Linked DNA regions of Homo sapiens: region 1 is linked to region 2. Evidence: promoter capture Hi-C in 16 types of primary human blood cells and fetal thymus (Javierre and others, 2016). All regions are on one chromosome and are shown on one strand. Each heading gives the region's core, a stretch centred on a gene start or on the middle of the fragment in contact. The rest is flanking DNA. Distances are from core to core; before and after follow the strand shown.

The links. The method cuts DNA at HindIII sites, captures the fragments that hold promoters and counts their contacts. A CHiCAGO score of 5 or more calls a contact.
Region 1: a contact is called between the fragment with the promoter of GFAP here and the fragment with the promoter of ARHGAP27 in region 2, in 1 of 17 cell types (neutrophils). The highest score is 5.2, in neutrophils.

Annotation. Positions count from the first base shown.
Region 1 is chr17:44,914,250-44,920,227 of GRCh38, reverse strand. It overlaps GFAP (glial fibrillary acidic protein), which reads left to right and starts at 4,728. Exons shown (of 9, transcript NM_002055.5): 1 at 4,728-5,202. The coding sequence starts at 4,742. It overlaps LOC105371793 (a long non-coding RNA gene), which reads right to left and starts at 1,509. Exons shown (of 2, transcript XR_934781.3): 1 at 410-1,509. RefSeq lists an enhancer at 1-195. The HindIII fragment of the contact is 16,653 bases long and covers 1,876-5,978 here.
Region 2 is chr17:45,430,940-45,437,079 of GRCh38, reverse strand. It overlaps ARHGAP27 (Rho GTPase activating protein 27), which reads left to right and starts at 4,210. Exons shown (of 20, transcript NM_001282290.2): 1 at 4,210-4,328; 2 at 4,731-4,864; 3 at 5,328-5,459. PLEKHM1 (pleckstrin homology and RUN domain containing M1) reads left to right here. Exons shown (of 12, transcript NM_014798.3): 12 at 1-1,180. RefSeq lists an enhancer at 588-1,241. The HindIII fragment of the contact is 25,899 bases long and covers 1-6,140 here.

The DNA.
Region 1 (5,978 bases), core at 3,479-5,978, 520 kb after region 2:
GTGGCTGTGGCGGCTCACACCTGACCAGCTGAGCACCACCATCTAGTGGCCACCAGGCTCAGTTCCCTTCCTCGGGACAGGCCATGGATGAACAGACTTGCTGGTCACCAAGGCTCAGCCAGAGAGACTGTGTTCTCTTCACCCAGCTTGCTGACCACCACGCTGTGCCAGGCACTGGGCCAGGGCCAAGGGCCCAAGCAGAACCAGCGGGCAGCAGTCATGTGGCAAAACTGCCGTTTGAATTAGAGGCTGGCCTATTTGGCAAACACCAGGCACCCTGTGTGTGGGTTGATGCCACATGTGGGGCTGGTCTGTCCCAGGAGGCATCTGGGCTTTACCCTGTAAGCAGAAGGTCATCTAGCAGATTCTGATGTGAGGGAGGGGCTCAGGAAGGTCATCTTGTCCTCACCTCAGCTTGAAGCAGGCACAGCTTGGCTGTAGGCTCCTTGAAAGGGCATCCAGACTTCTCTCTCCATGGCTGGTATTATCCTGCTGTGCAGTCTAGAAGGCAGTCTAGGGTTTGGCCAGAGGCTTTAGAAGTTGGGGCCTTCCATTTGGGGAAGCAGGAGAGGAGGCACCCCAGAGAATGGGGCCTGAGCCAGGCTAGGAGGATGGGGGGTTTGGGTGGAGGCTGGACGGGCTGAGGGCCTACCCTTCTCTGTTTGCTGTGTCTGCCTGCAGCAGATGCAAATCAGAGTGTGGTTTAGAACAGAGAGAGGACAGTCACAGCGGCTCACATCTGTAATCCTAGCACTTTGGGAGGCTGAGGCCAGAGGATCACTTGAGGCCAGGAGTTCAAGACCAGCCTGGGCAACATAACAAGACTTGGTCTCTGAAAAAAAAAATTATCTGGGCACACTGTCATGTGCCTGTAGTCCCAGCTCCTTGGCAGGCTGTGGCAGGAGGATTGCTTGAGCTCAGAAGTCTGAGGCTGCAGTGGGCTATGATGGTGCCACTGCACTCTGGCCCTGGGTGGCAAAGTGAGACTTTGTCTCTAAAAAAAAAAAAAGAGAGAGAGAGAACATACTGTCATACTGTCCACCACTAGGGCTTGGTACATGAATGCATATAGTGGAAAATCATGCAGCTGTTAAATGATGATGCAGACAAATATTTATTGATGTGGAAAGATGTTCACAACATATTGTTGAGTGAGAAAAGCAAATTACAAAATAATTTGTACGGCATGAGCCCATTTTGAAAAAAATGATTATATATGTGTGGAAAAAATCTGGTAGTGTTTATCTCCAGGTGGCAAAATGATGGCTAATTACATTTTTTTGTATTGCTTATCTATAGTTTCTGACCTTTCTACAATGAATATTTAATTAAAAAGATAATGAAAGTTTGGAACACAACCACGACCAAATCTGTCTGTATCTTTGGTTCTCTGTGCAGACACCTTTAGATAGTTAAGGGTTGGCCAGGCGTGATCTATATGTACCGGTTGTATAGGTCATGCCTGTAATCCCAGCACTTTGGGAGGAAGAGGTGGGAGGGTCACTTGAGCCCAACAGTTCGAGACCAGCCTGGGCAACATGGCGAAACCTTGTCTCTAGTAAAATACAAAAATGAGCTGGGCATGGTGGTGTATCTCTGTGGTCCCAGCTACTAGAGAGGCTGAGGTGGGTGGATCGCTTGAGCCAGGGAGATTGAGGCTGTAGTGAGCTGTGATAGCACCACTTCACTCTAGCCTGGGCAACAGAGCAAGACCCTGTCTCAAAAAACAAAAACAAGATAGTTAAGGGTTGAGTGTGAGGAAAGGTCTGAGGGTTGAGAAGGGGTGGAGGATGCACCTGGGCCTATGACAGGGGTCCACGGAGGTGGCTGATGGCAAAAGCTGGGGGACTCCAACTGCTGATGCTGAAACAAGCTTGTGTCTCACATACACAGGGACAGTTCACTGAGCTTCAATGACAGGCACCTCCTGCTCATCACATCTTTTCTCTCTAGGACAGCTTTGCCCTTATTTTAACTAGACTTCCCTTGAACCAAAAGGGAAGGCTACATGCTGTGACTTGCTGGGCAGCCTGGAAAGGCGGGCCACTCCTAGCCACAGAGATGAGACAGAGTTCAGACAAGAGCTTATCCCCAGTCTTCCTTTTCTATTTTGTTTATTTTATTTTATTTTTTTATTTATTGAGACAGAGTCTCTGTCACCCAGGCTGGGGTGCAGTGATGCGACATTGGCTTACTGCAGTCTCCACCTCCTGGGCTCAGGTGATCCTCCCACCTCAGCCTCCCGAATAGCTGGGATCACAGTAGTGCACCACCATACCTGGCTAATTTTTTTGTATTTTTTGTACAGACAAAATTTCACCACATTGCCCAGGCTGGTCTCGAACTCCTGGACTCAAGCGATCCGCCCACCTCAGCCTCCCAAAGTGCTCGGATTACAGGCATGAGCCACTATGCCCAGCCTTGCTCTTCCTTTAAAGCCTCCTGTCCTTCCCCAGGTCCCCAGTTCATAGCAGGATCAAAGGTCACTGGGCGCTCACCCCGTCTTCAAGATGCTCTTTCCTATGTCACTGCTTACGCCCAGGTCAGATGTGACTAGAGCCTAAGGAGCTCCCACCTCCCTCTCTGTGCTGGGACTCACAGAGGGAGACCTCAGGAGGCAGTCTGTCCATCACATGTCCAAATGCAGAGCATACCCTGGGCTGGGCGCAGTGGCGCACAACTGTAATTCCAGCACTTTGGGAGGCTGATGTGGAAGGATCACTTGAGCCCAGAAGTTCTAGACCAGCCTGGGCAACATGGCAAGACCCTATCTCTACAAAAAAAGTTAAAAAATCAGCCACGTGTGGTGACACACACCTGTAGTCCCAGCTATTCAGGAGGCTGAGGTGAGGGGATCACTTAAGGCTGGGAGGTTGAGGCTGCAGTGAGTCGTGGTTGCGCCACTGCACTCCAGCCTGGGCAACAGTGAGACCCTGTCTCAAAAGACAAAAAAAAAAAAAAAAAAAAAAAGAACATATCCTGGTGTGGAGTAGGGGACGCTGCTCTGACAGAGGCTCGGGGGCCTGAGCTGGCTCTGTGAGCTGGGGAGGAGGCAGACAGCCAGGCCTTGTCTGCAAGCAGACCTGGCAGCATTGGGCTGGCCGCCCCCCAGGGCCTCCTCTTCATGCCCAGTGAATGACTCACCTTGGCACAGACACAATGTTCGGGGTGGGCACAGTGCCTGCTTCCCGCCGCACCCCAGCCCCCCTCAAATGCCTTCCGAGAAGCCCATTGAGCAGGGGGCTTGCATTGCACCCCAGCCTGACAGCCTGGCATCTTGGGATAAAAGCAGCACAGCCCCCTAGGGGCTGCCCTTGCTGTGTGGCGCCACCGGCGGTGGAGAACAAGGCTCTATTCAGCCTGTGCCCAGGAAAGGGGATCAGGGGATGCCCAGGCATGGACAGTGGGTGGCAGGGGGGGAGAGGAGGGCTGTCTGCTTCCCAGAAGTCCAAGGACACAAATGGGTGAGGGGACTGGGCAGGGTTCTGACCCTGTGGGACCAGAGTGGAGGGCGTAGATGGACCTGAAGTCTCCAGGGACAACAGGGCCCAGGTCTCAGGCTCCTAGTTGGGCCCAGTGGCTCCAGCGTTTCCAAACCCATCCATCCCCAGAGGTTCTTCCCATCTCTCCAGGCTGATGTGTGGGAACTCGAGGAAATAAATCTCCAGTGGGAGACGGAGGGGTGGCCAGGGAAACGGGGCGCTGCAGGAATAAAGACGAGCCAGCACAGCCAGCTCATGTGTAACGGCTTTGTGGAGCTGTCAAGGCCTGGTCTCTGGGAGAGAGGCACAGGGAGGCCAGACAAGGAAGGGGTGACCTGGAGGGACAGATCCAGGGGCTAAAGTCCTGATAAGGCAAGAGAGTGCCGGCCCCCTCTTGCCCTATCAGGACCTCCACTGCCACATAGAGGCCATGATTGACCCTTAGACAAAGGGCTGGTGTCCAATCCCAGCCCCCAGCCCCAGAACTCCAGGGAATGAATGGGCAGAGAGCAGGAATGTGGGACATCTGTGTTCAAGGGAAGGACTCCAGGAGTCTGCTGGGAATGAGGCCTAGTAGGAAATGAGGTGGCCCTTGAGGGTACAGAACAGGTTCATTCTTCGCCAAATTCCCAGCACCTTGCAGGCACTTACAGCTGAGTGAGATAATGCCTGGGTTATGAAATCAAAAAGTTGGAAAGCAGGTCAGAGGTCATCTGGTACAGCCCTTCCTTCCCTTTTTTTTTTTTTTTTTTGTGAGACAAGGTCTCTCTCTGTTGCCCAGGCTGGAGTGGCGCAAACACAGCTCACTGCAGCCTCAACCTACTGGGCTCAAGCAATCCTCCAGCCTCAGCCTCCCAAAGTGCTGGGATTACAAGCATGAGCCACCCCACTCAGCCCTTTCCTTCCTTTTTAATTGATGCATAATAATTGTAAGTATTCATCATGGTCCAACCAACCCTTTCTTGACCCACCTTCCTAGAGAGAGGGTCCTCTTGCTTCAGCGGTCAGGGCCCCAGACCCATGGTCTGGCTCCAGGTACCACCTGCCTCATGCAGGAGTTGGCGTGCCCAGGAAGCTCTGCCTCTGGGCACAGTGACCTCAGTGGGGTGAGGGGAGCTCTCCCCATAGCTGGGCTGCGGCCCAACCCCACCCCCTCAGGCTATGCCAGGGGGTGTTGCCAGGGGCACCCGGGCATCGCCAGTCTAGCCCACTCCTTCATAAAGCCCTCGCATCCCAGGAGCGAGCAGAGCCAGAGCAGGATGGAGAGGAGACGCATCACCTCCGCTGCTCGCCGCTCCTACGTCTCCTCAGGGGAGATGATGGTGGGGGGCCTGGCTCCTGGCCGCCGTCTGGGTCCTGGCACCCGCCTCTCCCTGGCTCGAATGCCCCCTCCACTCCCGACCCGGGTGGATTTCTCCCTGGCTGGGGCACTCAATGCTGGCTTCAAGGAGACCCGGGCCAGTGAGCGGGCAGAGATGATGGAGCTCAATGACCGCTTTGCCAGCTACATCGAGAAGGTTCGCTTCCTGGAACAGCAAAACAAGGCGCTGGCTGCTGAGCTGAACCAGCTGCGGGCCAAGGAGCCCACCAAGCTGGCAGACGTCTACCAGGCTGAGCTGCGAGAGCTGCGGCTGCGGCTCGATCAACTCACCGCCAACAGCGCCCGGCTGGAGGTTGAGAGGGACAATCTGGCACAGGACCTGGCCACTGTGAGGCAGAAGTGAGGAGGGGATGGGGAAGGGGGGCCTTGTGAGCAGAAGGGGCTGAATCCCCAAGAAGGAGTGCCCGAGAAGTCTCAGGGAGGGGCCGAACCTCCCTGCTCCCTGGGCCTCCCTACCTCTTGATGGGGCACTATCCTTGCCCCCCAACATGATGGGAGGGACCAGAAACAGGCCCAGGGCCCCGGGGATCTGATGCCCGCATGCCTTCTGCCAGGAGTCCAGGGTCCCCTCAGCACCTCCCTACTGGGGAAAGCAGTGCAGGAGCAGCGGGGCCCCTGTGTTTCATTCATGGCTGGGCTTTGTGACTGTGGGCAGCGAGCTCACCTATTCTGAGCCTGTGTCCATATAAAGGAGGAGTTGGAAGCGGAGAAGGTTGATGTCCATGAGGGAGATTGGATTCTGGGGTGAAGAAAGTGAGGGAAAGAGCAGGCAGGTCTGGGCGCAAAGCACAGGTGACTGCCTGCCACCAGCTTGTGACCCCCATCAAGTTACTTTGACTTGCACAGCTGTGAAGCGGTGGTCATAATAAAATTCATTTCAAAAGGTGGTTACCTGGGATCAGAGGAATCCCCAGGGGCATGGCGCTTCACTGAGCTGACAGGACATGCATGTGTGCCTTCAAGTGCAGGAGGACATGTGCGTGTGTGTGTGTGTGTGTGCAACAGTGAGTGTATGCTTGTGGATGCGCCTGTGTGAGCAGAAGCAGGTGCACCAACCCTGATAAGGCACCTTAGTAATGAGTTAAGGCAAAAGCCCACATCTGCTCATCCTCCAG
Region 2 (6,140 bases), core at 2,961-5,460:
GGAAACCAGCACTGTCAGCACTTTGAGCCCTCCTCGGTTTATGGAGGGTCGCCGTCTTGCCCACCCCCGATCCCCGTGCGCTCCTCACCCCTCTACAGACAGGGGCGCTGCTGCAGATGCTCCAGGCCCACCTTGGTGGGTGCCCGGGGTCACACTCTCTGCCTGACTGACCCCTGCCAGGGCACAGATAGGCAGGACCCCAGAGAGGGCAGGCAGCCACGCCCTGCACTGTGGAGAAGTGACCTGGTCCTAAGCTGTGCAGGGCGTGCGGGGGAACTGCCCTGTGGATGCAGCCACCACCTCACAAAGCCATGAATTCCCAAAGCATCACTGAACTTGCCCAGCCGGGACACTGGAGACTGAAGAAGTTCCCCGGAGCAGGACTGCCTTTGAAGGGGCCTTGGGGCTGGGGTGGGAGTCTGGAATTGTTTTCAAAGTGATGGTCAGACCCTCCAGGCTTCGGGGAAATGTGGGTTTGCTGGTCTCTCTGTCGCCTTCCCCCACCTCTCCTGGACCTAGCAGGCCCTCAGTCCTAGCTGTCTTACCTGCGCTCAGCTTGGAGTCAGGCCTCAGGTGGAGAGCCGCATGTCACTGTCAGAGATGAGCCCACCCCCACCCTTCCCTGGGGGCGATTAGCTGCTGAGTCACCCACCCAGCCTTGGAGCTGGATGCCTGTGCAGCAGAACAGAGGCAACGGTGGCAGGCAGGTGGAGGCTGCGCACAGCTTCTCCCGGTCATGGCACACACCTGTGCCCAGACGCCAATGCCTCCTAAGCCAGGAGCTGGGTTATGCACCGCCATGGCCCACATTAACGCTCCACCACAAGCCCAGCCTAGTCAGAGCCCTCATTGCCCCATCCCTGAGTGGGCAGGAGCCTGGCCTGGGGAGGGCTTGGGCCTGTGAGGATTCTCCCCGAAGGTGCCCTCGGAGGCAGCAGGTTTGAGGCCCTGGGGGGCCCGTTCCCCAGAAGCTGCCAGTGCTTTCAGATGCATTGACTCTTCCCGCCTCCCCTCCCTCAGAAAGGTAGTGCCCACACTATTTTTAAAATGTTATTTTATGCAATACACTGTTCCTAGTGAGCAGGGCTCTGGCCCTGAGGAGTCTTTGCAATGTATTGAAGGAATTGCTGCCGTGTGAGTTTTGAATGATTTTGCAGTAAAGACCTGATCTTTCTCATCACTGGTCTGGCTTCTGAATTCTAACACTGCCACGGCCAGGGGGGAGACCACCAGCCATCTGTTACCATCTGTCAGGGTCCCCTACCCTCATGTTAGTCCCTGGCACGGGGGAAGGCTTGGGAGGTCCGTGGCAAACACTTGTAGGCAGAGGGCTTGCATGCCAGGAGTGGGCAGGGAGAAGAGAGTAAGAAAACCACCTTGCCAAGCCCAGCAGTCAGGCTCTTCCTGGGGTAGGATCTCAGGGTCTCTGGGGAGGTGTACCCACACTTGTATAACAACTCAAGCTGATCCCACGCCGGTGGCTTCTTTTCCTGTGACTTAAATGTCAAAACACAGACCCTTGACACTGGATCATGTGAAACCTCAGGATACAGGGGACATTTCTCAGAGGAGAAATAAAGGAGAGATGGGGCTCAGGAAAGAAGGGTTATTTAAGTGGATCCCCCGATTCAGGGCTCATGGTTTTAGGGCTCAAAATGACTTTTACTTGGCTGCTGACCTTCCTCAGAAGTTCCAGGAGAAGCCCAGGGGACCCCTCCAAGGGGAGGCCCACACCACTGTCCATTTTAAGAACAGGAGCAGGAAACAGACTTAATTCTCAGGGAAATCAGGTTGCAGTAAAATGGGATGGAAACAGACAACATTCAGGTCTGAGATTTCCTGTCCTTAAAGGCCCCTTTCAGATTACAAGGTGGCACCCTCTGCCAATCTAGGTGCCCCAGCTTCCCCCAAGGGCTTCACCTCCCTCCAGGACAGTAGATGGTAGGCCCGGAGAAGAGAAGAGAAACTGGGAGAGGGAGGCCCAGAGGAGGGCCACAGCACGTGACCTGGTGCTGCCCTGCCGGTGGGTTCAGGCCCTCTCCAGCCTCAGCAAAGCGCCCCTGAGGCCACTTGTTTCCCCTTCTCCCCTCCCTTTTTTTTTTTTTTTTTTTTGGATACAGTCTCACTCCAATGCCCAGGCTGGAGTGCAGTGGCGTGATCTTGGCTCACTGCAACCTCCACTTCCCGGGTTCAAGCAATTCTCCTGCCTCAGCCTCCTGAGTAGCTGAGACTTCCCCTTTTCCTCTTCTCTCTGAAGGAGGACAGGTGGTTTGGAGATTCCAATCCAACCCCCAAGAGCTTATCATATAATGTAAGTAGTCATAATAGCTGATGTACCCCGGCATGGTGGCTCACACCTGTAATCCCAGCATTTTGGGAGGCCGAGGAGGTTGGATCATCTGAGGTCAGAAGTTCAAGACCAGCCTGGCCAACATGGTGAAACCCCGTCTCTACAAAAATACAAAAATTAACTGGGCATGATGGCGGGTGCCTGTAATCCCAGCTACTCAGGAAGCTGAGGCAGGAGAACCACTTGAACCCGGAGGCGGAGGTTGCAGTGAGCCAAGATCGTGCCGCTGCACTTCGGCCTGGGAGACAGAGTGAGACTCTGTCTTAAAAAAAATAGCTGATATATTGTGTGCGCTGGGCATGTGGTAAGCACTGCTTAGTGGACCTCATTTAATCTTCCCAATAATCCAGTGAAGTGGGTGTTACTATCCCATTGACAGGAAAGAAATCTGAGCTGCAGAGATAAGGCAGAACTCCCAAGGCCTACCAGCCGCCAAGCAGCAGAGTGGGGCATCATACCTGCCTGACCCCACGCAAAGACCATCACCACTGCCAGCCACTGCCTGGCTGTGCTGCAGGTGGAGAGGGACCTAAAAGGTAGGGAGGGAGAGAAGATTCCTCCAGCCACGATTTTCTTTTTTTCTTTTTTGGTTGTTGTTTTTTGAGACGGAGTCTTGCTCTGTCGCCCAGGCTGAAGTGCAGTGGCACGATCATGGCTCACGGCAGTCTCCGCCTCCCAGGTTCACACCATTCTCCTGCCTCAGCCTCCGGAGTAGCTGGGACTACAGGCTCCCGCCACCACGCCCGGCTAATGTTTTATATTTTTAGTAGAGACGGGGTTTCACCGTGTTAGCCGGGGTTTCACCGTGTTAGCCAGGGTTTCTCAATCTCCTGACCTCATGATCCGCCCGCCTCGGCCTCCCAAAGTGCTGGGATTATAGGCGTGAGCCACCGTGCCCGGCACCAGCCACTATTTTCTAAGCATGTCGGGCACCAAAGACCAGTGCTGAGTTCTGCTGTGTGCCCACCCTGGAGGGTCCCAAGGTGCCACCAAGGCTCAGACACACAGATTCTCAGAGGAAGTGTGGACTCACAGGTGGGCAATGCCTAGCAGAGGCAAAGATATAGAGGTAAGGGAGTTCCTTACTTACTATATCTTACAAAGATATAGAGGTAAGGGAGTTCCTTACTTACTATATCTTACAAAGATATAGAGGTAAGGGAGTTCCTCTGAATCTGGGTGGCCAGATTCAGCTTCCCACCCAACCCTGGGTCCCCAGGAGGTGGTGTCAAGAGAGGCCATGGCCTGGGATGCGGGCCCTTCTTCCTCCCAGAACACTGGCCTGAATCAGCCAGCTCTTGGCACACACAGCCAGGTCCACAGGCACAACTGTTCCTTGGGGCCCCTGAGGGCAGGGGGTGTGCTGGGGCTGTGGCTTGTAATGTCTGGAGTGAGTGCAGGCTCAGATCAGGGCGAGGCTGCTTGTCCAGAGAGGCAGAAAATTCTCCAACAGAAGACCCCCAAGGCGGAGGGCCCTGGGGCTGGACTCCTGGAGGTTGTTCTGAGCTTACCCTGTGGACGGATTGGAGGGTGGCCCTCCTTCCCCACAAGGATCAAGAGGGGGTGGGGGATGGTGGGAGGGCAATCTGGCCAGGCGAACCTGCGGGGGAGGCTCCCGCCCTCCCCAGTCCCACCATCTCAGCCCCGCAGCCTCTTTCTCCCTGGAGACAGCCAGGTGCGGCCCAGGATCCCGGGAAAGGCAGGGGAGGGGGTGGCGTCTTCGCTCCTCAGGCGCTGGCCCGGCCCAGAGGGGACAGGAAGCCAGGACACCGGGGATTGTCTCTCGCAACCGCAGCCCAGCCCCAGTCCGGGAGGAAGTTCTGCCCGGCGCTCTCCGCCGGTGCCTCCCTGGTTATATTGTTGAACAGGAAACCCGGCAGCGCGGGAGCCGCACAGTCGAGGAGGGAGCGCGGGACGCCGAGCCCACGCGCGCCTGCCGGGGCAAGTGGAGGCGAAGCCGGCGAGCGGACGCCCCGAGGTGCCCGGGCAGGCAGGGTCGGGAGTGGGGCGCCGAGCGGGGGTTGGGGGTGGGAAGTGGGGTGGGGGTGGGGAAAGGGCAGGGTTGGGAAGGGAAGGGTGCGGCAGGTGGCGGGTCCGCACCCGGGAGCTCCGCGCGCCTGCTCCCCTTGTCTCCGCGCTGGGGCGGGAGCTGCGCGGGCCGCATCCCACGGGGAGGAGAAGGTAGGCGAAGGGCTGCCCTCCATCTGGGGGCTGGAGGGAAGCAGGCCCAGGCCCCCAGCGCCGACCCAGGCGTTGACGCCCCTGTAGCTTGAGTCGCCTGGGCAGTGGACGCAGGGGACCTCCTGGCGACTGGTGCGCTGTCGCGCTCCAGGGATCCTCCCGGCTTCCCCAATCCCTCCCCTTCTCTGCGTTTCCCCAGGGTCGGGGAAGGAACCGAGGTCCGGTCCCCTTCTTATCCAGCCCGAGACATCGAGCTCCGGTGGGCGTCCCTGCGCTGGGAATCCCGCTCGGAGTTTTTCCAGGCCCGGCCGGGCTGCTCCGGGAAAGGCCCTGGTGAGGGAAGAGGTGGGCCCGGAGCGGGCGGATTTGCAATCCGGTTGGAAGGGCTCGCAGTGGGTGATTCAGGGTGCAAATGACCTCCCCGGGAACAGGAACGCCCGCACGAGACAACCAGCCCCAGCCCGGCATTCCCAGAGCCGCGCACAGGAGGGACGCAGGCACTCCCGGACAGCAAATCCCGGGGGGTGGGGGGTGGGGGGGCGGGGAATAGAGGGGGAAGGCGGAGCGGGGGCGGTCCCATCCTCCTTGGGCTCCGCTCGCGACCTGCCAGTGCCCCTTCAGACGCAGCAGTCCCGGCTCCAGGTGCCGGCCTTCTGCTCTGGGCCTCGTCCCAATGCCCCCCAAGGTCCCCAGCAGAGGCATTCAGGCTCCTCCTCGCCCCACCCAGACACGGCTGCTTTGGGTATCGGTGACAGCACTCCTGAGCGTCCCTGTCCCTCTTCGCTCTGCTTGCCAGCTCCTGTTCCGCGCAGCCTCTCCGGCCTCGCCCCTGGAAACCCCGCCCAGGGCGATGGTAGGGGCCTAACCTGCAGCCACCGCCGGCTCCGCCCACCCAGCCCATGGGCTCCCTGAGGCCCGCCCAGCCGACGTGAGTGCGCTGCGGGGTCCAAGGGGAGGGGGCGCCGGGGGAGTGTCCTGCTTGGGGTTTGTTGGTTCAGCACCGGGCAGCTCGATGACCCCGCCTCCGGGGCCCAGCGTGCTTAGTGACTCAGTTTACACCCTTTCCTCGTCGAGGAACGCTTGACAAAGTGGCGGAGGAGCCCTGCTGGGGCCCCCGTTGGAACCTGCTCCTCTGCCTCGGCAAGCGGCGGTCTCCTGGCCCCGGGTCCGGGCCACCTTAGGGGGCAGGAAGAGGTGTGGTCAGTGTGGGAGTTTGGAGGGGCCATGCACTTCCGGAGAAAACCGACTCATGGCTTTGGTGGAGGGGCGCAGACAGATTTAGTTAGGCTCTCCCCCATCCCTGACACCCCGAAGCCCGGGCGGGAGCGGGGCTTATGACCACCACTCCGGAGAGCTTTGGGTGGCCCTGCTCTGGGACTCCGCACTTATAGTCACTGTCTCAGAGTGCATTCTCCAGGAGCCACTCGTGGGGACACTGTAGGGGTCACAGGGCAGGTGGACAGGCCACAGGGGCAGGGCCTTTCTCGGGGGGCGGCGTGAGAGCTGGAGAGCAGGGGGCGGTGCGGGCCGGGCTGGGCGGGCCGGGCTCGGGCTCACGTCTGCGGTGATGCAGCTGGGGAAGGAAAGAGAAACCGAGAGAACCGGTTCC